7 separate regions of the Homo sapiens genome follow, and all the other regions are linked to region 2. The links are contacts of gene promoters, found by promoter capture Hi-C in blood cells and fetal thymus (Javierre and others, 2016). All regions are on one chromosome and are shown on one strand. The core of a region is centred on a gene start or on the middle of the fragment in contact, and the rest is flanking DNA. Distances in the headings are between cores, read along the strand shown.

The links. The method cuts DNA at HindIII sites, captures the fragments that hold promoters and counts their contacts. A CHiCAGO score of 5 or more calls a contact.
Region 1: a contact is called between a fragment that was not itself captured here and the fragment with the promoter of PAXBP1 in region 2, in 3 of 17 cell types (monocytes, total CD4 T cells and total CD8 T cells). The highest score is 7.4, in monocytes.
Region 3: a contact is called between a fragment that was not itself captured here and the fragment with the promoter of PAXBP1 in region 2, in 1 of 17 cell types (total CD4 T cells). The highest score is 5.1, in total CD4 T cells.
Region 4: a contact is called between a fragment that was not itself captured here and the fragment with the promoter of PAXBP1 in region 2, in 1 of 17 cell types (total CD4 T cells). The highest score is 7.1, in total CD4 T cells.
Region 5: a contact is called between a fragment that was not itself captured here and the fragment with the promoter of PAXBP1 in region 2, in 1 of 17 cell types (total CD8 T cells). The highest score is 5.0, in total CD8 T cells.
Region 6: a contact is called between a fragment that was not itself captured here and the fragment with the promoter of PAXBP1 in region 2, in 1 of 17 cell types (naive CD4 T cells). The highest score is 6.2, in naive CD4 T cells.
Region 7: a fragment that was not itself captured here is called in contact with the fragment with the promoter of PAXBP1 in region 2 in 1 of 17 cell types (neutrophils); the score reaches 5.7 in neutrophils.

What each region holds. Positions count from the first base shown.
Region 1 is chr21:33,582,455-33,585,988 of GRCh38, forward strand. It overlaps DONSON (DNA replication fork stabilization factor DONSON), which reads right to left. Exons shown (of 10, transcript NM_017613.4): 3 at 3,524-3,534; 4 at 2,136-2,314; 5 at 1,034-1,212. Among named protein-coding and RNA genes, the nearest start is that of DONSON, 4.5 kb to the right of the region's middle. The HindIII fragment of the contact is 4,141 bases long and covers 1-3,534 here.
Region 2 is chr21:32,769,957-32,773,594 of GRCh38, forward strand. PAXBP1 (PAX3 and PAX7 binding protein 1) reads right to left here and starts at 1,799. Exons shown (of 18, transcript NM_016631.4): 1 at 1,370-1,799. The coding sequence starts at 1,712. EPCIP-AS1 (EPCIP antisense RNA 1) reads left to right here and starts at 2,144. Exons shown (of 4, transcript NR_024623.1): 1 at 2,144-2,352. RefSeq lists an enhancer at 1,466-2,455. The HindIII fragment of the contact is 7,946 bases long and covers 1-2,656 here.
Region 3 is chr21:33,506,750-33,510,134 of GRCh38, forward strand. It overlaps GART (phosphoribosylglycinamide formyltransferase, phosphoribosylglycinamide synthetase, phosphoribosylaminoimidazole synthetase), which reads right to left. Exons shown (of 22, transcript NM_000819.5): 18 at 3,034-3,171. Among named protein-coding and RNA genes, the nearest start is that of DNAJC28, 17 kb to the left of the region's middle. The HindIII fragment of the contact is 4,585 bases long and covers 1-3,385 here.
Region 4 is chr21:33,343,350-33,346,804 of GRCh38, forward strand. It overlaps IFNAR1 (interferon alpha and beta receptor subunit 1), which reads left to right. Exons shown (of 11, transcript NM_000629.3): 4 at 1-73; 5 at 186-327; 6 at 1,897-2,011. Among named protein-coding and RNA genes, the nearest start is that of IFNAR1, 20 kb to the left of the region's middle. The HindIII fragment of the contact is 3,215 bases long and covers 26-3,240 here.
Region 5 is chr21:33,450,946-33,454,365 of GRCh38, forward strand. All of the region lies in intron 6 of TMEM50B (transmembrane protein 50B), which reads right to left. Among named protein-coding and RNA genes, the nearest start is that of TMEM50B, 27 kb to the right of the region's middle. The HindIII fragment of the contact is 255 bases long and covers 1,767-2,021 here.
Region 6 is chr21:33,434,760-33,438,055 of GRCh38, forward strand. It overlaps IFNGR2 (interferon gamma receptor 2), which reads left to right. Exons shown (of 7, transcript NM_005534.4): 7 at 2,069-2,757. The coding sequence ends at 2,203. It also overlaps a transcript of TMEM50B not described here. Among named protein-coding and RNA genes, the nearest start is that of IFNGR2, 33 kb to the left of the region's middle. The HindIII fragment of the contact is 2,047 bases long and covers 318-2,364 here.
Region 7 is chr21:33,561,221-33,564,586 of GRCh38, forward strand. All of the region lies in intron 6 of SON (SON DNA and RNA binding protein), which reads left to right. Among named protein-coding and RNA genes, the nearest start is that of MIR6501, 12 kb to the left of the region's middle. The HindIII fragment of the contact is 9,715 bases long and covers 1-3,366 here.

The sequences.
Region 1 (3,534 bases), core at 742-3,241, 810 kb after region 2:
CACTCTTTCATAAATCATATTGTATTCCAGTTCACTTTTTGAAAAAGTACTGATTGGGCCCATTAAGTAGATTTCATGATCCACTAATGGGTTTACTCAGTTTGAAAATTTTGTTATTAAAGGGGTAATTGGTACTATAGAAGAATTTCTAGAAGAGTATATTCAGATAGTGACTATCTGGCCCAATATGTGTTTTATTTTAGAGATCAGAGAACACTATGTGGAAGGAACAGTTTAAATCAGGAGTCCCCAACCCCTGGACTGTGGACTGGTACTGGCCTGTGGCCTGTTAGAAACCGGGCTGCACAGCAGGAGGTGAGCGACTGTCGAGTGAACATTACTGCCTGAGCTCCATCTCCTGTCACATCAGTGGTCGCATTAGATTCTCACAGGGGCACGAATCCTACTGTGAACTGTGCATGTGAGGCATCTAGGTTGTGCCCTCCTTATAAGAATGATGATCTTGTCCGGGCGCGGTGGCTCACGCCTGTAAGCCCAGCACTTTGGGAGGCCGAGGCGGGCGGATCACGAGGTCAGGAGATCGAGATCGTCCTGGCTAACACGGTGAAACCCCGTCTCTACTAAAAATACAAAAAATTAGCCGGGCATGGTTGCAGGCACCTGTAGTCCCAGCTACTCGGGAGGCTGAGGCAGGAGAATGGCCTGAACCCAGGAGGCGGAGCTTGCAGTGAGCCGAGATTGCACCACTGCATTCTAGCCTGGGTGACAGAGCGAGTCTCCATCTCAAAAAAAAAAAAAAAAAAAAAAAAAGAATGATCATCTGATGTGTAACAGTTTCATCCCGAAACCATCCTCCTCACTGCCCATGAAACTGATCCCTAGTGCCAAAAAGTTTGCGGACTGCTGGATTAAATAATTGTGGGGGAGGGAAAAAAAGCCAGAAATAAAGAAATAATATATTTCTTAATGTTGCTAATCAACTGGTAAAAGGCATTTTAAATTTAAATAGCTTTTAGGCCAAAATAGGTTTACTATATAGTATAGTATTCTCACTTTAAACCTAAACTTTTACCTTCATTTCTCATAGCTTCTCTTAAACCTCGAGTTGTTGGAGATATGAGAGCTGTGATTAAGTCACTTCCAGCTAATCCTGCTGCTCGGAACAGGACAGTAAACTGATAGGTACAAACGTAGAAATAGGGGCAAAGTTTTGTCTTCAGCAAATTATATAGAGAAGTAAAGCTCACAGACCTATGAAGTAAAAAAATTTTCTTAAGGTATTATTAAACATTTAATGCAATGTTTATAATTCTGAATAATTCAGTTTGATACCTGGTTTAAAACACAACACAAATATTTTAGATAATGGTTTTAATTTTTGTGGTTACGTATGACTTAGCTTTAAAGGACTGAAATTGGTTATGAGGACTCGCTGATGACTTCTCAATACTTTAACAAATAGTGTATACCACTTAAACACTTATTTTTTCTTTAAACAAAACTTAATTGAGAATTGCCTGCTGACTTTCTCTGAGCTGCTGCTAAAAAAGGAAGCAGAGACTGACAAGAAGTAGCATTAAAGAATTAGGGCTGCGTGTTTATATATATATATATATATATATATATATATACTTTTTTTTTTTTTTTGAGACGGAGTTTCGCTCTGTCGCCCAGGCTGGAGTGCAGTGGCGCGATCTCGGCTCACTGCAAGCTCTGCCTCCCAGGTTCATGCCATTCTCCTGCCTCAGCCTCCCGAGTAGCTGTGACTATAGGCACCCGCCACCACACCAGGCTAATTTTTTTTGTATTTTTAGTAGAGACAGGGTTTCACCGTGTTAGCCAGGATGGTCTCAATCTCCTGACCTTGTGATCCGCCTGCCTCGGCCTCCCAAAGTGCTGGGATTACAGGCGTGAGCCACCACACCCGGCCTGCCTGTCTGTATATATTTAACCAACACTTATATACATTCTACCACAATTGGGTAAAGAATGAGTAACAGCTAAAAAAAAAAAAAGTAAACAGTTTATATGTTGGTTATTAATAGGTTCAGATAAAATTCACAAGGATCTAGATACCCTTCTGCCATTAACGTATCCAGTCACAAATATGATAGAGAATGCTGCTAAAATAAAATTCACTATTGAATTATACAAGTTTCTCTTACTAATCTTACCAGTCACTCATTAAAACATGCTGCAGGGTTGCATCATTTGACCAAGGACTTGTCTTTCCAGCCATTTTTCTATCAGCTCCAATACGAGGGAACAGTGGTAGCCAAGACAAAGCAGGGTGGAGCCAATAGATAAGGCTCTGCTGGAAGGTACAACGGAGCTCAGAGGAGAGTTTGGGATCCTAAAATCCAAAGGTGACAGTGGGCAGTTTTTGCCCATTGAGAAATAGAGAATTTTATTAAAGACAATCTTTACCAAACACTTAGGTCTAAGAATCTTTATTGCTTTCTATAGGAAAGCATTAATAATTGTTATAGGAACGAAAACATAGTTTATCCTTATTTGAGCCAGATGTAATGGTAAGCCGTAGTATCAGAACATTTAAACATAGATGGGAACATTTTCCTGTTTCTACCATCCTTAAGGACAATGACTACCTTTTTTATCATGAGGAATAGGGGTGGGCATGTGTGTGTAGGTAACACTACATCCAACCCTCTCTCCAAAAGGCTGTTTTAAAAGTAGCCAGTAAACACTGATACGGCAAATCACAAATCATCCTAATCTATTTATTGAAAAGATGTATAATATACCAAGACCTTTTTCAGGGTAATCCTTTTTAACCTAGTTTGAGACTTTAAAAAAATTTTTTTAAGATAGTCTCACTCTGTCACTGAGGCTAGAGTACAGTGGCACAATCAGAGCTCACTGCAGTCTTGACCTCCTGGGCTTAAACAATCCTCCTACCTGAGCCTCCCAAGTAGCTGGGACTACAGGCACCCACCACCATGCTCAGCTAATTTTTTTTTTTTTTTTTTTTTGTAGAGATGGGGTCTCACTACGTTACTCAGGCTGGTCTCAAGCAATCCCCCCACCTCAGCCCCCAAAATGCTGAGATTACAGGCATGGGCTATTGTGCCCAGCCTCCTAGTTTTGAGTTGATGCTTTAAAATAATCAAAATGTATATCTCTAAAACCATTCTAGAACTCACAAACTCCACAAAATTCATAAAATTTTTCTTATACAGGTAAGAAAATCTGTAAATCCATCAGCCCTTGCAATCCCACCCAATTGCTTTTCACTTCTTTCTTTGTATTTTCTTTCTCAAAAAGCCTTAGAGAAAAATAATTTAACAATTCTTGCCTGCAACACTGATTAATTTGCAAGACAAGTCTCTAAATGTATGAGCAGTTACTCAATCTGACTTAAAAAAAAAAAAGGTATGAAAGCACCATAAGCACCATCTGGGAAAGACAAAACTTCCTGTCTTTGTATCTTTAAATTTCCAAAGAAAAACTTAATGGAAGGCAGCATCTGCTATTTTGCAAAGGAGAGCATTTCACACTTAATTTGTTACTTTAACACATAACTATTTTATTTCAGAGTTACCTGTATACTTT
Region 2 (3,638 bases), core at 549-3,048:
TAAATGAAGTCTGTAGCAACTATTTTCTGAAAATATTTTCCCTTCTTTCACATGATCTTACGTGCTGTCCAAATTATCCCAAATATATATACTCATATGCCAAAATCATTGTATAATTATTTCAAGTCTGTCACAGACTCAAAAACAGAGGTCAACTTCCTAAATTACTGTGAAGTAATGAGATTTTTGAGACTTTTTAAAGGAATAGCACATGTAACTTCACAAAATTTTCCTATTATTGTCGTCCTTAAATCATCTATTTGAGAGGGGAAAAAATCATTCAAAATGTTTCTGAAAAACCACATCACCAAGTTATTAACGAATCCGAAACAAAATATCTAAAATAAAAAGGTGCTGTCAATTCTGAGTAACTACATCCACCACAAGCTGACATAGTGGTTTTAAAGCTAAGGTAAGGGCAAATCACTTTTCTTTGATTTGAAATTTTAAAAGTACTAAATACTTAAAAAAAAATAGCTCATGTATCTCAAAAACAAAAATCTGTCTGTACTCCTCTCAAACCAAATAAAGAGTAACAGAAATGCCAAAGATAAACTACCTACCTTACTGGAAACCTCTCGAATAAAAATGCAAGATTTACAAAACTTAATTTCTTTTTTCGTAACATGGAATTAACTGGGTTATGCACATTCAAATGGTCAGAAGAAAAGATTTAAGGCTCATTTAAGATCAGCAATCTAAAACCACTGCAGCCTGGCCTCCCACAGGAATTGGAGAAACTACCTTGCTTTTACTATTTTTACACCGTCTCGCTTCACTGTTCCCAAAGTCAGTGCGAAGAAGGCTGGGTATCTGCTACCCCTAATTACTTTTATGGGTAAACTGAGGCTCAGCGACTGCAAGGGACTGGCCCAAGGTCACTCAGAACCAGAGCTGCAACTCCAGGCTTCTGTTCCCTCTCCTAGTATTCCTTTTTACAAACTCGGCCTTCATGGTCGAGGATGCCTGGACAGAGCATCCAAGAAGTGTGGGCGCAGTGACCTGCAGAGGGCTCGGAAAGCATGCCAAGAGCAGCCAGGGGACCCACACCAAGTTGGCCCTGAAACACGCCAGGCAGAAAAGAGGCAGGACAGGGAACACCGAATTTCCCCTGAAACACTCTGAATGCCTGATCTGAGCTCCGGCCCCGTGGCAGAGGAGGTGGTTAAGAAAAGGCTGGGGGCAGCGCGGGAACGCGTCCCTTGCCCGAGCAGAAGGCCGGAGGCTGGGGAAGATTCGCAGCCGGTCGGACGGCAGGGGACTCCGTTCCAGGGCTCCGGGGCTGGGCGTCCAGAGAATACGGGGGCGGGGGACGGGGGCCTGCGTCGGGGATGCGGCCGTCTAAGGGCGTCCGAAGCGCGCACTTTACCTTCCTCCTCGTCCTGGAAGCTGAGCAGGCTGGCCCGGGGCACCTCTTTGTTCTCGCGAGGCCTCTTGCGCGGCTTCAGCCCGTTGCCGGGCTCCGCGCCGCCGGGGAAGCCGCCCCCGGCCTCAGCCCCGAGGCCCGGGGTCAGCGCGGAAGGCGGCGACGGCCCCGGGCCCAGCAGCGACTCCCCGCCAGGGGCCCTGTCGCCGCCACCGGGGCCCGCCTCTTCGCCCGTGCCCGGCGGCGGCAACAACGGCGGCGGCTCCTGCTCCTCATCGCGTTCCCGCTCTTCCTCTTCGGAGTCGTTCCGCTTGCGCACGTTCACCCGCCGGGCCTTTCGGAACATCCCCGCGGCCCGCACGGCGGTCGAATACTCGCTTCCACACCGCGGCCCCGGCAGCGCCGAGCTCGTGACGGCGCACGCGCGCTCTCCGGAGCTCCAGCCGGGTCGAGTCCTCTGTTGCTACCGCGCACCCCACGAGCGCGCATGCGCCTATGCTCCCACGCGCTCTCAATACTTGGAGAAAGAGAGAGAGTGAGAGAGAGAGAGAGAGAGAGAGAGAGAGAGAGAGAGAGAGAGAGAGAGAGAGAGAGAGAGAGAGAGAGAGAGAGAGAGAGAGAGAGAGCGAGAGAGAGAGAGAGAGAGAGAGCGAGAGAGAGAGAGAGAGCCCCACACCTCTCGCGAGAGCGTCGGCTCTTTGCATCGCTCTCTGTCGGAGTGGAGTACTATTAGCATGGAACTCTGGTGTTGTTTGACAGGTCACAAAGAGGATCATAGAGATGAGAAGAAAGAGTAGGCTCTGTTGTCCCTCAGACGGCGCTGCTGCAGTGCGTCTTCGCACTTACGCGGAGCGGTAATGTGAGGAAGCCTCCCGCCAAACAGATGAGGGAGGAGGAGGAGGGGAGAGGCCAGAGAGAGAAGCGGCTTTCGGGAAGGAAAGTGTGATCTAGTAGGTGGAATAGTCCTCTCCAAACTTTGACCTGAGGTGTGACTATTGGTAATTACTAGTTATTCTTGAGTAATACTTTGTATTTCTACAGCTTTATAGCTACAGAGCTCTTAGAAAGACATTGAATTTTATTTATGATACAATGTTACTTCAAAGACATTGAATTTCATTTATGGTACAATGTTACTTCAAAGACATTGAATTTCAGTTATGATACAATGTTACCTGGCTTGATGTCCCCCGTTCCCCAGTCTTTCAGGAACAAGGAAAGCAAAAGTGTTTCCGTGTTTTCTAAAGAATGCCAAGTTTGCAAGCAATTCTATGACTAAATACTTTCCAAAGCTTAGTGAGTTTCAGAAACAAGTGGAAGGAAAATAGAGCAGGGGGTGGGGAAGGTTGTGACAGTTCTCAGACTTGCGTGACAAAGCCCTCGCTGGCCACACCTTCACAGGGTGATTGCGCCTAAGGTTGAACTCACCGGCTTTCCCTATCTCATCACCGAACTAGAAGTTTTTCCTTCGGGCATGCACCTGTGCATGCGAATTCATTTTGATGTTTCGAAATTAAAAGGGTATTCGGTAGAGTGAAAAAAATCCACCCATGTCTGGAAGGCTGTTCACTTCCTCAGTGGCAATGTTAACAGTTTCTTATGATCCTCTAAAGATGTTCCATGAACATAAAAGCAAATAAATATGCATATTTTAATGTGTTCCCCTTTTTACACAGATGGTGTGTAAGCTGCATTTTTAGCCTACCGTAGATTGGAGATCGGCCCATATCTGTATATGAAGGGTTGTGTTTTTTTGGTTTTTTGTTTGTTTGTTTTGAGACTAAATTTCGCTCTTGTCGCCCAGGCTAGAGTGCAATGGCGCGATCTCCGCTCACTGCAATCTCCGCCTCCCAGGTTCAAGTGATTCTTCTGCCTCAGCCTCCCTAGTAGCTGGGATTACAGGCACGTGCCACCACGCCCAGCTAATTTATTTTGTATTTTTGTATTTCACTCTGTTGGCCAGGATGATCTCAATCTCTTGACTTCGTGATCCGCCCGCCTCAGTCTCCCAAAGTGCTGGGATTACAGGCGTGAGCCACCGCGCACGGCCGTCTATTTTTTTTTTTAACCCACCTGCGTAGTGATTCATTGTTGGGATATACCGTAATTTATTTAACCAGTTCCATAAACATTGATATTTAGATTATTTCTAGTCTTAATCAGTGCTGTAATGAAAAGCTTTGAAAAACTGTTACATCTGTAGGATGAAATAGAATTGAAATTGCTAGATCTCAATATATGCATTTATGATTTTGCTAATTCTAAATTTCTT
Region 3 (3,385 bases), core at 880-3,379, 740 kb after region 2:
GGCAAAAGATCTGAATAGACATTTCTTAAAAGAAAACACACAAATTGCAAACAGGTATATAAAAAGGTGCTCAACATCATTATCATCAGAGAAATGCAAATCAAAACTATGACATATTGTCTCGCCCCGGTTAAAATGGCTTTTATCCAAAACACAGGCAATAACACGCTGGCGAAGATGTGGAGAAAAGGGAACCGTCACACACTATTGGGAAGGTAAATTAGTACAATTATTATGGAGAACAGTTTGAAGGGTCCTCAAAAATTAAAAAAAAGAGCTACCATATCATCCAGCAATCCCATTGCTAGGTATATACCCAAAAGAAAGAAAATCAGTGTATCAAAGAGATACCTGCAGTTTCATGTTTATTCTCCCTAGCCAAGATTTGGAAGCAACCTAAATGTTTATCAGCAGACAAATGGATAAAGAAAATGTGGTACATCACACAATGGAGTACTATTCAGCCATAAAAAAGATGAGATCCTGTCATTTGCAACAACATGGATGGAACGGGAGGTCATTAAGTTAAGTGAAATAAGTCAGGCACAGAAAGACAAACCTCACATGTTCTCACTTATTTGTGGGAGCTAAAAATTAAAACAGTTGAACTCATGATGATAGTGCAATGATGGTTACCAGAGGCTAGGAAGGGTAGTGGGAGAGACGGGGAGAGGGGATGCTAATGGGTACAAAAATATAGTTAGAATGAACAAAATCTAGTGTTTGATAGCATAACAGGGTGACTATAGTCAACAATAATTTATTACACATTTTAAAATAACTGGAAGAGGCTGGATGTGGTGGCTCACACCTATAATCCCAGCACTTTGGGAGGCCAAGGCAGGCGGATCATACTGAGGTCAAGAGTTCAAGACCAGCCTGACCAGCCTGGCCAACATGATGAAACCCCATCTCTACTAAAAATACAAAAAATTAGCCAGGCATAGTGGCAGGTGCCTGTAATCCCAGCTACTCAGGAGGCTGAGACAGAAGAATCACTTGAAACTGGGAGGCGGAGTTTGCAGTGAGCCGAGTCTGCGCCACTGCACTCCAGCCTGGGCGACAGAGTGAGACTCTATCTCAAAAACAAAAACAAAAACAAAACAAAAAAAAACTGAAATAAAATAACTGGATTGTTTGTAACACAAAGAATAAATGCTTGAGGTGATGAATACCCCATTTACAGGGATGTGATTATTACAGGTTGTATGGCTGTATCAAAAGATCTCATGTACCCTATAAATATATATACCTACCATGTACCCATACAAATTAAAAATTAAAAAAACTCCCTTCCTCTTGGGATAATGGATTAATAGATTGTGAAAAGCACAGATATTCCTGGATAGCCTCCAGTTCCATCCATATTGCTGCAAACGACGTGGTTTAGGATATGTAATTGCTCCTAGGATATGTAATTGCTCCCACAAATTCTGTATCTTGTGATCTAGCATTGTAGTAGAAACAGTATAACATTATGTTAAAACTGACTGATGAGAAATAAGCTGCTTAATTAAGCAAGAAAAACTGACCCTCTCAAGAACAAACCACTATGCTATGACTCTTACAATAGTTTCTTTAAAAAAAAAAAATTTTAGATTCGGGGGTACACACGCTTGTTTATTACATGGGAATGTTGTATAATGGTGGGGACTGGGCTTCTAGTGTACCTATTACCTACATAGTGAACATTATACCTGATAGAAAAATTTTCAACCCTCACCTCTTCTCCCACACTTCCCTGTTTTGTATCTATTGTTTCCATCTTTTTTTTTTTTTTTTTTTTTGAGATGGAGTCTTGCTCTGTCTCCAGGCTGGAGTACAGTGGTGCAATCTCAGCTCATTGCAACCTCTGTCTCCAGGGTTCAAGCAATTCTCCTGTCTCAGCCTCCAGAGTAGCTGGACTACAGACGTGTGCCACCATGCCCAGCTAATTTTTGTATTTTTAGTGGAGACAGGGTTTCACCATGTTGGCCAGGATGGTCTCGATCTCTTGACCTTGTGATCCGCCCGCCTCAGCCTCCCAAAGTGCTAGGATTACAGGCGTGAGCCACAGCACCCGGCCCTATTGTTTCCATCTTTATGTCCACATGTACCCACTGTTTAGCTCCCACTCATAAGTGAGAACATGCAATATCTGGTTTTCTGTTTCTGAGGCAGTTCACTCAGGATAATGGCCTCCAGTTCCATCCATATTGCTGCAAATGATGTGGTTTTATTCTTTTTTATGGCTGCATCTTACAATAGCTTCTTTGCTTTATTATCAACTTGGGCCTAAAGTACATTAAAACCTTAAGATCGACCTGTAAAGCAATTAAACTTCTGGGAATGAATCCTGAAGAAGTATCAGAGCTGGTTGTGGTGCTGCATGCCTGCAGTCCCAGCTACTCGGGGGGCTAATAAGGCGGAAGGATTGCTTGAGGCCAGAGCTGGAAGCTGCAGTGTACTATGACTGCATCTGTGAATAGCTACTGTACTCTAGCCTGGGCAACATAGCAAGACTGTCTCAAAAAGAATCACTATGATCTTGGCCATCAAATAAAAAAAAATCACATATGCATTTAAGAACATACTGAATATTTGCAAGAATGTTCATAGCAGTGTTACTTACAATAGAGGGAAAAAAATCAGGCTACATCCATCTGAGAGAATACAATACTCTTATTACTTTACCCCTCTATCCATAAAGGTTAAACATAAACTTCTTCTAATTAATAAGATAACAATAAAAATTCCTCAACTGTTTTCAGACTTTTCAACAACAAAGCTATGATACAAAATGAGCTGTAGCTTCTATCTTTTCTGGTTTCTCTTTAACCAGCTTTCTGACATCCTTTACTTTTTTCTTTGGGAGCTGTCTCAAATTCCTAAGAAAAGTGGAAAGACTAAGAATGCTGAAAAGACAAAGACAACCCTCATGATTCCCCCCAGTCCCTAGACTCTGCCGAGAGTAACCTTACAATCTCACAAGAGTGCGGGGAGGAAAGGAAGGGCAGTCAACAGCTCTACAGTGAAGGGGAAGCCACATCTCACCTGTTCCAGATATTAAGACAGCCACTCTGGCCTTTTTTTTTTCAAAAGAGAAATGATTTGTCAGGGAGCCATTCTTCAACACTGACCCATTTATTTGCATGCTTTCAATCAGATTCTTGACTTTCACACGTGGGGAACCTTCATTTCAAACATATCCATAAATAAGTAAAGAACAATTGTGAATTAACAAGAATAATGGAAAGAAAAATATTTTATGAAAACTTTAGGGTATGTTTTATCCTGAAAATAAGATAATGCAAGGACTAAAATGAACAACACATTTGTATCACTTAACACTACTCTTTCATAAAAACTTCCAAAAGGTGAACATATGTAATTACTTCAACTAAAA
Region 4 (3,455 bases), core at 383-2,882, 570 kb after region 2:
TGTTATGTGGGCTTTGGATGGTTTAAGCTTTACATATAGCTTAGTTATCTGGAAAAACTCTTCAGGTGTAGAAGTAAGCATTATTTTTACCTCTGTTTAATCGATGTGAGAGAAAAATTAGGCGAATTAATCCTAAAATTTGACTTTATACTTTTTTAAAGAACCAACTTATATTTGTGTTATAGGAAAGGATTGAAAATATTTATTCCAGACATAAAATTTATAAACTCTCACCAGAGACTACTTATTGTCTAAAAGTTAAAGCAGCACTACTTACGTCATGGAAAATTGGTGTCTATAGTCCAGTACATTGTATAAAGACCACAGGTAAGGAAGATGTTTTGTTTTAGATTCAATAAATATATAAACAGATTGTCAATTTTGGCATCTTCCCCATATTGCTGAAGTTTACATGATAGGTCAATATATGTTAAAAACATTGTAACATTTACATAAGCAAAATAAATGTTACTTGGGATTTTTGTCTCAAATAGTAATGAAAATTAATTCTACTTAAAAGTTCAGGCTGGGCGTAGTGGCCCACGCCTGTAATCCCAGCACTTTGAGAGGCTGAGGTAGCTGGATCACTTGAAGCCAGAAGTTCGAGAACAGCCTCGCCAACATGGGAAAACCCCGTGTCTACTAAAAATAATTAGCTGGGCGTGGTGGCTCACGCCTGTAGTGGTAGCTACTTGGGAGGCTGAGGCACAAGAATCCCTTGAACCTGGGAGGTGGAAGTTGCAGTGAGCCAAGATCGCGCCACTGCACTCCAGTCGGGAGCAAGGGGGACAAAGAGTAAGGCTCCGTCTTAGAAAAAAAAAAAAGTTCAAATATTTTGTAATGACAAAACTTTTCATTTGTTCAGAATCCACATGAAGCAGGAGGTAGCTGAACTATGAGTTCTGCAAGTGGGAAGAAAAGGTGGGGAAGTAGTTGCTAGTAGACAAGTTATTGTTCAAGAAAGCATACCTTTGTAAGTGGAATGTTAAAATATGAAAGTATCCTGATACATTTAGTAACATCTTTCCAATAATTAAGGTCAAGGGCAGGAGCTGGGATTTGTTTATTTTAATTGTAAATTTCATATGCTTTTTTTTTTAATCAAACATTACGGAAGGGTTTAAAGTGAAGTCTTCTTCTCCCTTCTTATCCCCAATTCCATTCACTAGAGATAAGCATTGCTTAGCAGTTTGTGTATATCCTTTCACAACTTTTTTCAGGATTTATGTAAGCATATACACAGACCCACAGTTTCTTGGGTTTTGTTTTTTAAAATTACAAAATAAAATCTTACTAGAAGTATTTTACAGCTTGCTTACTTAACCCAGTGTGTTGGGGATATTCTATATCACTCAATACAGATCTATTACGTTCTTCATTTGATCTTAGCCATCTATTGCATTCTTTCTTTTTTACTTATTTATTTATTTATTTATTTATTTATTTATTTATTTTTGAGACAGAGTCTCACTCTCTTGCCCAGAATGGAGTGCAGTGGCTCAATCTCGGCTCACCGCAACCTCTGCCTCCCAGCTTCAAGCGATTCTCCTGCCTCAGCCTCCCGAGTAGCTGGGATTACAGGCGTGTGCCATCATGCCTGGCTAATTTTTGTATTTTTAGTAGAAATGGGGTTTCACCATGTTGGCCAGGCGCGTCTCGAACTCCTGACCTCAGGTGATCCATCCACCTCAGCCTCCCAAAGTTCTGGGATTACAGGTGTGAGCCACTGCGCCCGGCCTGTAGTCTTTCAAATGGCTGCATAGTATTACATAGTGTGAATACAAACCATATTTAACTATTACCTTATAATGATAAAATGCGAGCCTTTATCTTCTTGCCAGTTATCTCACTTGAGTAAAAATGTGTGCTTTTTTTTATCTGTTCTTTGGCTTCTAGTTGAAAATGAACTACCTCCACCAGAAAATATAGAAGTCAGTGTCCAAAATCAGAACTATGTTCTTAAATGGGATTATACATATGCAAACATGACCTTTCAAGTTCAGTGGCTCCAGTAAGTTCCATTCCATAAATTTCCTTTTGCCCAGTTTGTTTTGATTATGCTTCTTTTCGCTCTGCATCAGTCACCAGGTCCTTGCACACAGAATGACCGACTGGGAGGTGGGTACGATATATTGGAAACGTGAGAAATCTCATTTCTAACCCCAGTTCTGCCAGTAACTAACTGGATGACATTGAGCTAATCGCTTAACCTCCATGGGCCTCAATTTCTTCACTTGTAAAATAGATGGATTCTAATATCTGGGGTTCTTACTGGCTTAAGAAAAAAAAGAAAGTGTAACTAGTTGCATGTGTTATTTCCCCAATCTGGAAGACTCGACAGTTGACCCTGATCTTTTTCTAAGAACTCACTTCTTCCATGAGTCCTTAAAATGATCTCAGTCCACTCACTTGTTCAATTCAAAAAATTAGCCTTCCTATTTTCTTTATTACTTTAGTGGTTTTGACAAAATTTTGTAGTAGATACTTCGGTGGGAAAGAAAGTTGGAAAGAACTATGTTCTATGTGGTTGAGCAGAGGCTAGCTAAACATGGATGAAGTCCAGGCGCTGCATAAATGAAAGAGAACTGGCCTGGTGCAGTGGCGCATGCCTATCGTCCCAGCTACTCAGTGGGCTGAGGCAGGAGGATTACTTGAGGCCAGGAATTGAGGCTGCAGTGTTGTATGATCACACCTGCTAGTAGCCGCTGCACTGCAGCCTGGGCAACATAGTGAGACCCCCATCTCTAAGCATTAAAATTTTTAAAAAGCTGATAAAAGAGAACTGCATGTAGTTTATATTGATTGGAAAATTGTAGGAGATGAATAGAGAAAAGAGAAGAGGAAAATTAAGTAGAAGGAAAAATGGGTTATGGGGAGAAAAGAGATGGAAAGAAAGATATACATTGGTGGCAGAGGAGTAGAGAGAGCAAAGGCAAGTATAGCTAAGACAGGAAAGGAAAAGTCAGAAGAAACTGGAAAGAAACAGAAAAAATGAGGGAGAAGGGAAGTGTAAGTACCGCTATGATCAATTTCTATCTTTTAGTGTTAATTTTGAACCAAGGGTGACTGGTAGAATGCAAATGCATTTATGTGCATATGTGCCCCACAATGCATATATAACCTCACAAACCAATCAGGAAACTGTTCAGTAGTCTTTTGTGTATACCTCACTTTCAGAAGTGAATAAATAATAGGGTCACCAAATAGATAATGAGAGGTATTTCTGATAGCTGATCTCTAAGCTTCTTTTGGGTACTTACCATATTGTACAAAGCACTGAAGAAATGGAAAGAGTCAGCAGAATCAAACGTGGTTCAAAAATTGAAAGCAGTTAGCCAACATTGCAAAGTGTTGTGTGGTTTAGGACTAAAGAGTGGTATACAAATTATAAGGGTTGCAGAAATTGAAAATGTAAAGGTGAATAGGGGCTAAAGAGACCAAAGAAGCCATAAGGA
Region 5 (3,420 bases), core at 644-3,143, 680 kb after region 2:
AGGTACTTCACTGATTCCTATCAATTTTAAAAATTAAATTAGACATCATGGCAGTGTTGGTCTTAATTTGCTTATTTTGTAAAGCAGTCTGTTAACTACGATGGCTAAGCATAACTGTATTCTTTCTTAAGGCCTGGGAAGTTATTAACAGGCAACTTGTAAGGAAAAGAGACATTTCTCTATGACTCAGAAACAAAAAAATGAATCAATAAATCAAAAGAAAAAGGGAGAGAGACCATTCTCATAGTGACAGGCATTAGGGCCATTTTATGTCTCCAGGAGCCTACCATATCTAAATTACAGTAACTGAAGCACCCTACAACAGACCATGCTGCAATTCTTCATTCCTTCAACAAATAATTATTGTGCACTGAAAAGTGGCTACGTACCAAGCACCTAAGTGCTGGGGTGAGACTGAGTCCAGACAAACTTGCTCCCTAATGGAGCTAAGGGTCTAATAAGGAGACAATCAAATAAATATAAAATTCCACCTATAAAAAAATGCTATAAATGAGAGGTGCACAGTATCCTCAGAGTGAAACATAAGGATCAGACCTAGTTAGAGAGGTCAGGAAAGGTTTTCCTGAGGAGTGGTGACTGAATTGAGATCCAAAAGAAGAGGGGGAATTATCTCGGCAAAGTGAGAGAGGATAAGGAGGCGGGAGCAGAGAGATGGGACACTCCAGGGCCATGAGTTGAGCTGTGGGCATACTAAATGTTTTGGATTTGAAATGTCAGCAACCCAAGAAGGGATGTGAAGTAGGAATCTGGATATACGGTTTAGGCCTGGAAAGGGACATCTGTGACTCACTGGCATATAAGCAATAATTGGAGTCCTAAGTACACATGAGTTCACCCAGGGACAGAAAAATAACAAGGAGTTTCTTAAGGCCAAGAACAGCTTTAAGAGACTTCAAAAGGTAGTAGGCAGGGAGTGGAGGATCAGCTTGCAAGGAAAACAGAGGAGTGACCAGAGATGTAAATAAAAGAGGTTGTACCCCAGAGCTTAGAACAGGTCCAGCACACAGGAAGCATACAGGCTGCCTGATAACTTGCCAGCCTCTGGGCAGAGCACATAGATGACACAGCTGTCAACTATGTCCACCTGAGCATACAAGGTTTCTGTTCATCCAATTGTCATTTAAGTGGATTCATCTACCACCACAAAGTGTTGAATCTGAACTTAATCTCTAAAGACTGCCTAAAATGTCTTCATAACAACTTACCATATCCCCAGAAGGCTGTCAGTCACATGTCTTTGACATATAAGACAGCAGAAACTGCCAAACATCTTTCAAAACCAGGAGTGTCAAGGCCACAAGGCGAAATCCAGGTAGAGCATGGTGGTCTGAGAGTGGAGGGAGACCACATGGCTAGAGTTTGCCATGCAGCGTACAGACAGCCACACAGAGGGAACGCAGGAGATCTGCAGGGGGTGCTCCTTCAGTCTGTGGCTGAGTACTGAAGAGTCTATACATAAGAGGAAACTACCCAAGGGAAGGAAAGAACCACTGGAAAGAACATGTCCCAGAGCTACCACAAGGCTGGAAGAGAGTTCATACTCTCACAAGTCGAGTAGAGAAACCTCGGAATACATGAAGCATCAGAGAGTGGAAACACTCAAAGGGTATGACTGCCTTAGTAGGGGGACAAATCAGTCCTGGGCTACAGCTGCTCTGGTCCTGCCTATAACAAAGCTTAAGAGACATAAAAGGATCAAATTGTTTCTGATTGTTTCTGAGTCACCTAACTGCATCCCAAAACAAAGCTTAAAAACATTTAAAGGACTAGCAAAGATCCAGTCCCAACAAATTGTATGCAAAGCACCAAATAAGGGAAAATAGGTCCAAAATGAAGAGTAAACAGAAGCAGAAAAAATCAGTAGAAGCAGATGCAGAAATGACACAGACAATTGGACAAGGACCCTGAGATAGCTATAAATATACTCTGTGTGTTCAAGGTGGAAGAGGGCATGAGCATGTTAAGGGAAGACATCAGAAATATTTTTAAAGACCCAATCAAGCTTCTAGAGAGAGAAAATACAATGTCTGAGATGAAAAAATCATTGGATGGCATAGATTAGACATTGCAGAAGTAGAGATTAATTTATTTAATTCTTCAAAGTGACAATAGAGAGATTAATTTTATTTATTTATGTATTTATTTATTTTGAGATGAAGTCTCGCTCTGTTGCTCAGCAATGGTGTGATCTCAGCTCACTGCAACCTCAGCCTCCCGGGTTCAAGTGATTCTCTGGCCTCAGCCTTCCGAGTAGCTGGGATTCCAGGCATGCACCACCATGCCCAGCTAATGTCTGTATTTTTAGTAGAGATGAGGTTTCACCATGTTGGCCAGGCTGGTCTCGAACTCCTGACCTCAAGTGATCCACCCGCCTTGGCCTCCCAAAGTGTTGAGATTACAGGTGTGAGCCACCATGCCCAGCCGAGATTAATTTTAAAATGTAACAATAGAAACTATCCAAACTGAAACACAAACAGGAAAAAAAAATCTGACCATTAGCAAGCTGTGAGACAACTTCGAGCAGCCTATTATAACCTGTAATTGAAATCCCAGAGGGAGGGTGCAGTGGATACAAAAAATGCTTGAAGAAATAATGGCTGAGAAGAATCTAGATTTATTGATGAACTATAAACCTATAGATCCAAGAAACTCAATATACACCAAGCAGAAGGAATATCAAGAAAACTAGACCACAGTACATCGTAATCAAATTACTTAAAACCAGTGACAAAAGCAAAGTTTTTCAAGGCTTAGAAGTTACTTAATGATTTATGGGGGATGGGGACAGAGGCAGATAAAATTTTATAAATATATACCTAAATATCCTATGTTGACATTAAAAGACATTCATTCTAGGCTGGGCATGGTGGCTCACACCTGTAATCCTACCACTTTGGGAGGCTGAGGTGGGCAGATCACTTGAGGTCAGGAGTTCGAGACCGGCCTGGTCAACATGGCAAAACCCCATCTCTACTAAAAATACAAAAATTAGCTGGGTGTGGCAGTGCATGCCTGTAATCCCAGCTACTTGGGAGGCTGAGGCACGGAATTGCTTGAGCCTGGGAGGCAGAGGTTGCATTGAGCTGAGATTGCACCACTGCACATCAGCCTGGGCAACAGAGCGAGAATCCAGCTCAAAAAAAAAAAAAAAAAAGACATTCATTCTAAAAAGCATAGAATGGACTTCATTTTGGGGATATTTTAGAAGACTGCCCCTAAAAAATACTTTTAATATTGGTTTATTTTTCCACTTACTTTAACTTTTCTTAAAAGGGCATTCAGAAAACAGAATTTCCCAACAGGTTTTGTATATAATATGCATACTATGTATTAATTATTATTATTATTTTGATATGGAGTCTTGCTCTGTCACCCAAGCTGAAATGCAGTGGCACTATC
Region 6 (3,296 bases), core at 91-2,590, 660 kb after region 2:
TAGAACCTCCCTGGTTAATATTGTCACAAAATCACAGCTCCTAACAGGTCTCAGAATCTTACTTGCAGTAATAATCTCTCTCTCTCCTGGTAGAACTACCAGCTGAGCCCCAGTACATGAATATACTATGAGTCATTCCTCTGAGACATGAACAGAAAACACAGGCCTGTCAGTTCACTTTTCTAGGAAAGCATAAAGAACATCCGCCAAAGGTCTCTGAGTTACATGGGAACAGTGAATCATGTTTCACTTATAATTCTGGGGTTTCACAAGGGTACATGTTTTGGTTTTGTTCCTCTTTCAGTCAGTCAGCTACAAGCTTATTGTCTTCCAGTATCTTTCAGCATTTCCAAGAGCTAGACACTAGATTCTTGGTAACTTGGTGAATCTATGGCTAAGCCTAAAGCCTGCGGGAGCAAAAGGGAAATTAATCGCTGGGAAACACCCCTTTATATGTTAAGGCCTAAGGCCCTCGCTCCCAGATTCTCTGCTTGCTGTGCGCTGGTGCAAGGGGAGGGGTGGAGGAGTGCCTGAGACCAATGCTTGTGAACTTGCCCTCTTTTTCCCCATCACAGCTGAACAAGAGCCCCCAGTCCCTCCTTCACTGAAAGGTTACAATTTTAGAGACGTCTTAAGATTAATAACCCACAGGCCTACACTGAGGGTTGCAAGGAAGAACTTGCTTTTCTTCCAATCAGAAAATCAGAAGAAAAAAACAAAACTTGCTTTTCCTGAGTTTTGCCCTTTTAAACTCTCAGCATATTAACATGGTCAGCCCTGGGATGAGTATTAAAGTGATTACTGAGATGAGGGGTAAGGAGTATTCAACTATTAGAAGTTGTTGGCTGGGTGAGGTGGCTCATGCCTGTAATCCCAGCACTTTGAGAGGCCGAGGTGGGTGGATCATGAAGTCAGGAGATCGAGACCATCCTGGCCAACAGGGTGAAACCCTGTCTCTACTAAAAATACAAAAATTACCCAGGCATGGTGGCATGCGCCTGTAGTCCCAGCTACTTGGGAGGCTGAGGCAGGAGAATCACTTGAACCCAGGAGGCGGAGGCTGCAGTGAGCTGAGATCCACGCCACTGCACTCCAGCCTGGCAACAGAGCAAGACTCCGTCTCAAAAAAAAAAAAAAAAAAAAAAAAATTAGCCAGCCGTGGTGGTGCACGCCTGCAATCCTAGCTACTTGGTTGGGAAGCTGAGGCAGGAGAATTGCTTGAACCCAGGAGGCGGAAGTTGCAGTGAGCCGAGATCGCGCCACTGCACTCCAGCCTGGGCGAAAAAGAGACTGACTCAACAACAATAAAAAATTGTTGCCGGGTGCAGTGGCTCACACCTGCAATCCCAGCACTTTGGGAGGCCGAGGCGGGCGGATCACCTGAGGTCAGGAGTTCGAGACAGCCTGACCAACATGGGAAACCCCGTCTCTACTTAAAATACAAAATTAGCAGGGTGTGGTGGTGCATGCCTGTAATCCCAGCTACTTGGGAGGCTGAGGCAGAGGTTGCAGTGAGATGAGATCGTGTCATTGCACTCCAGCCTGGGCAACAACGTGAAACTCCGTCTCAAAAAAAAAAAATTGTTTCATTGTTGAATAAAAAGAAAAATAAGTTATGTCATTGGTGGACAGAATCAACTTATATCTGAATAAAATAACTATACCAATTAAAACTAAAGTAGGCCAGGCGTAGTGGCTCACGCCTATAATCCCAGCACTTTGGGAGGCCAAGGTGGGTGGATCATTTGCGATCAGGAGTTTGAGACCAGCGTGGCCAACATAGTGAAACCCTGTCTCTACTAAAAATACAAAATTAGCCAGGCAAGGTGGTGGGCACCTGTAGTCCCAGCTACTTGGAGGATTGAGGCAGGAGAATCGCTTGAACCTGGGAAGCAGAGGTTGCAGTGAGCTGAGATCACACCACTATACTCCAGCCTAGGCAAGAGTAAGACTCCATCTCAAAAAAAAAATAAAAATAAAAATAAAATAAAAACAAAAACTAAAGTTAAAAGGTCTGGTATACTGAACTGGTAAACTAATTACAATTTTGCTTTCCAACCTCCTCAAGTATTTAAAAGACCCAACTCAGCCCATCTTAGAGGCCTTGGACAAGGACAGCTCACCAAAGGATGACGTCTGGGACTCTGTGTCCATTATCTCGTTTCCGGAAAAGGAGCAAGAAGATGTTCTCCAAACGCTTTGAACCAAAGCATGGGCCTAGCCCACTGGCTCCCTGGAAGAGATCAAGCCATCGGAGCTGCTAGAGTTCTGTCTGGACTTTCCAGAGACCAGTATTCCCTTTTGCTGCCTCTAAAAGGCCTGTCCCTGCAGACATGAGAGACAGCAGGTCTCATGGGGGTGACAAGCTTTTTTTTTTTTTCTTAAAGAATTTTCAAAATCAAATTCCAGAATGATTTTACGGAGATATCCCAGGAAAATTAAGGCTTCTCTTAAACACTAAAAAGGCATGTAATTGCTTGTTAGCAAAATGGATATGACACATCTCTGATACTTTTTTCATTATTGGTTGGGCTGAGCAGTCAGAAGACCTGGTCGTCGTCTTGACTTTGGCAAATGAGCCGGAGCCCCTTGGGCAGGTCACACAACCTGTCCCAGCGAGGGACACCGAGTGGCCCTTCATGTACATCCATGGTGTGCTGGCTTAAAATGTAATTAATCTTGTAAATATACTCCTAGTAATTTAAGATTTTGTTTTTAAACTGGAAATAAAAGATTGTATAGTGCATGTTTTTTAAAGTCTATGTGAAGTGTTTTCTTTATTGTAGCCTATTTTCTGCAGAGTTTCAGCTTTCTAAAATTACTCAATCTAAACTTGTTTTTTCTTAAATAACACCTGCTAGAGCTACTGAGGCCTCATGGGAACTCAGCAAACACTTCCTATGGATGTCACTTGATCCTCCAAAGGTTATAAAGAAGGCCAGGGCCTAGTGCAGTGGCCCACGCCTATAATCCCAGCACTTTGGGAGGCTGAGGTGGGTGGATCACTTGAGGCCAGGAGTTCTAGACCCACCTGGGCAACATGGTGAAACCCTGTCTCTATGAAAAATGCAAAAATTATCCAGGCATGATGACATGCACCTGTAGTCCCAGCTACTTGAGAGGCTAAAGTGGGAGGATGCTTTAGCCTGGGAGGCGGAGGTTACCATGAGCCGAAATGATGCCACTGCACTCCAGCGTGGGAGGCAGAGCGAGACCCTATCTCAAAAAAAAAAAAAAAAAGAGGGCTGGGCATGGTGGCTCATGCCTGTAATCCCAGCACTTTGGGAGGTCAAGAT
Region 7 (3,366 bases), core at 859-3,358, 790 kb after region 2:
GGTTTGGATAATATTTTAGTGAGACCATTTGAGTTGTTAATCCCCCAATCAGGCTACCTGCATATCTCAAGAGAGAAAGGTTAACTGACATGTGCAGCTGACTTAATCTTCTTGTAGTAGCTGAATAGAAACCATGATAAGAGGGTTGAACAGGCTTACTTAGAAATCCTAATATGTATGCTTTTAGTAATTTCCTGCAGTTTAAGCATTTAAAAAAGAGTTGGAAAAAAAAATAGGTAGGGAGAGAGTCTGTATGACAAATATTTTCCACTGAAGACTTAACAAATATTGCAGAATTCCAAGGGATCTTCCTGAGAAGATAAGTGAGCATAACTGTTTTGAATTTCTTCGGTTCAATCATGGGGAAAGTGCTTAGTAACTCCTGATGCTTACACTTTTTTGAGAGAGAGAGAGTGTGTGTGTGCGTCTATTTATTTGAAATTTAGTACTCAGCCATTTTCAATCTTAACACTGAGTGTGGTGCCTTAGCCTTGTTTGTCATCAAAAGTTGTCAGATTTTAATTAAAGGTTGAGGAGAATTATTCTTAAATCTGGTGGGAAAAGTTGATAGAGAAAGGTACTCAAATAATGGTGACATTATTTTTTGTTAAAAAAATTTTTTTTCTTACCAAAGAAGAATCCTAGAAGGTAAAATTATTTTACAATTCTTTTCAAAGGGCTAAATGAATAAAGCAGATGATGTCTCTTGTGGGACGATATATGTAACTATTTGATATAAAACCTCTTTAAGCTGCTTAGAAGATTAGACTCAAAAGAACATACAGATTAATTCTAAAGAAGAGAATCCCAAAATACAAGGGCAAAGAGGCAGGATTGCCTTTTGCTTTCATATCTGCACTTTTACCTGGCAATAATGTTAAAATGTGTAGAGGAAATAGTCACAATTTAAAATGTTTAGTTCCAGTTATTTAGTGACCATCTAAATATACTATATTGTATATATAGAAGGTAAAAGTAATGAATTTATTATTTATACAATTAGTGTTATATATACCAATGTTGTGAAATACTTTTGGTAACACTTCGTGGGAGCATTAACCCTTTTGATTCCTTGTTAGAGTTTGAAATAAAGGCTTCTAGAGTAAAAGGAGATAGTTCTTTTAAATGGTCAACCTTTGAACTGAATAGTAATTTTTATCTATGCCTTTTTCATTTTAATAAATATAAATGGAGTTTGTGGTTCTTTGTTGTTGAGCATAAAACATTTAGGCAAAGATCACAGATTTTATCTCCATAAGAGGGCTGAATTAGCTTTGCTGTAATCCCTAATCCCACCAATTGTCTTGCATATGAATGCTCTTTGACATGAGTATGAATGGATAGACATTGTGGATGAAGCAGCATAAATTCATTTCTTATGGAAAAACAACTCATCAGACTGTGTGCGGTACTGCCATAGCATCGTCTTCATACTCAGAAACCAGCCAGCATCATCCTCAGTAAGGAGTGACTACAGAACTTTGACTGTATTTGTGTGAATTTGATTTATAAACAATGAAATAAAATGTTGGAAAACTAATATTTTAAAAATAGTCCTCAGGGGCATTAATTCTTGGTAATAAAGTTAGTAGAGGTTTATTGAGTAGAAGATTAGGATGTAATCTTTGACATAAGTGGAGTAGTAACTACTCAACTATTAGTGTGGAGTTTTCATGGATTTAGTATCAATCAAATGTTTTAGGGGTCCAGAGGTAGTATTGTTAAGGTCTAGTGAATGCTTAGATGTTAAGATCATCTTTATGTTAAGCAGTTTACTGGTTTGTATTTATCAAATCATATTTCCACATCCCAATGGAATTACAATTTTTTTAAATTTATAAGCTCTAAATGTATAGGAAAACTTGGAGAAAAATGAAAATTTTAATTGGAAATTAAACACATAGGTCCCGGCACTGCTAGAATGTGTAATATACAGCCTTGTTATTCTTTCCTTCCTAGATTCTCTTATGTGGTTAACGCTGAATTTCTCTGAACCATTTAGTAGGTTATCTATTTGTTTTCCCGTTGTACTTCATTTAGTCTATTATACACTAGAGAATTTTGTATGATACAATAAAAAGATTCGTAATTCACTTTTTAAAGCCAACCAAACACATAACTGGGACATTCTGTGGCTTTTATTTTTGTAGTTGTCATTTTGCTCTTGTATGCATTAACCTCTTTATATTTTAATATTTGCTAAATATTCTAAAATCATGTTTTATATACAGGCCAGATGCTTTTACCTTAGGTCTATTTTCTTATAATTAAAGTTTTCCTTTTATGCCTGCTTTTGAGATATCTGTGATTACCAATAATAGAAAATAATTTTCTGGTTATAGGTATTTTCCTTATCTGACTCACCCCATCCTAACAATTATCTTTAGCTCTTTTATATCCTTTCACTGATATTCTAAGAAGTCTCTTAAAATATTGTTCTTTTTATGTCAACAGTTGTGTTAACAAAAGGAGTAAATGGATTTAGAAGAATTTCCTAAATGAGAAATAAAAATGTAAAAGGCTCACTTAAATGTATTAATATAGGTCATGAAATGCATGTTATATGGTGCCAGTTGCATTATGGTAATTTCATTATGCCTCAGACACCTTTGTAGGTTTTATAAGAAGTAGTTGTCTGCTTTCTTGCTGAGGGAGAGAGAGTGAAGAATTTGGGCAGTTTTTATTTACCTGAGATTTGTAATTCAGGACACTTTTTATGTAAATTTCACCTTTTAGAGCAAAGGTGAAAAGTCAGTAAACATTTCCCCCATTATCATACCTAGAATATTACTACAGAATTATTTTTATACACTAGGTAACATGCTAGTCTTATAGTGTATTGGTAGAAACTAAGGCTTGTTGGTGACAGCTTGGTAATAGTATTCTACAGATTAAAGATTCTCTTTTTCCCAGTTTTTGGAGGGGCCTTTTACCATCATTTTGGTGCCTTTCTTATATTTCCAGTTTCTGAATATTAAACGACAGTTAAGATTCTAAAGCTCTATTGTCCAATACAGCAGTTACCAGCCCCTGAAAAATCAGGTTTTTAATCACACTAGTTACATTTCAAGTGCTCAGTAGTGATCACTGTAAGAAGTTGTACTGGGCAATGCTGCTCTAAAGGGTAGCTGTGGTATTATGAGTGTTTCAATACTGATAAGTAACATCGGGTTTGACCCTTAAACATTGCTGCTTTGGGGATTGTATTGGCTTTTTATGCCTCATTGTATAACTTGAGTTACCTTGAAAGGCTGGAAACAGGCTTTTTGATGTAAACTTTTGAGGATCTTTATGAGGTTAAGATAATCTTGATTCATTCTACTTTGAGTATATGTTTTCGCATTAAAAATAAAAATATGGCCAGGC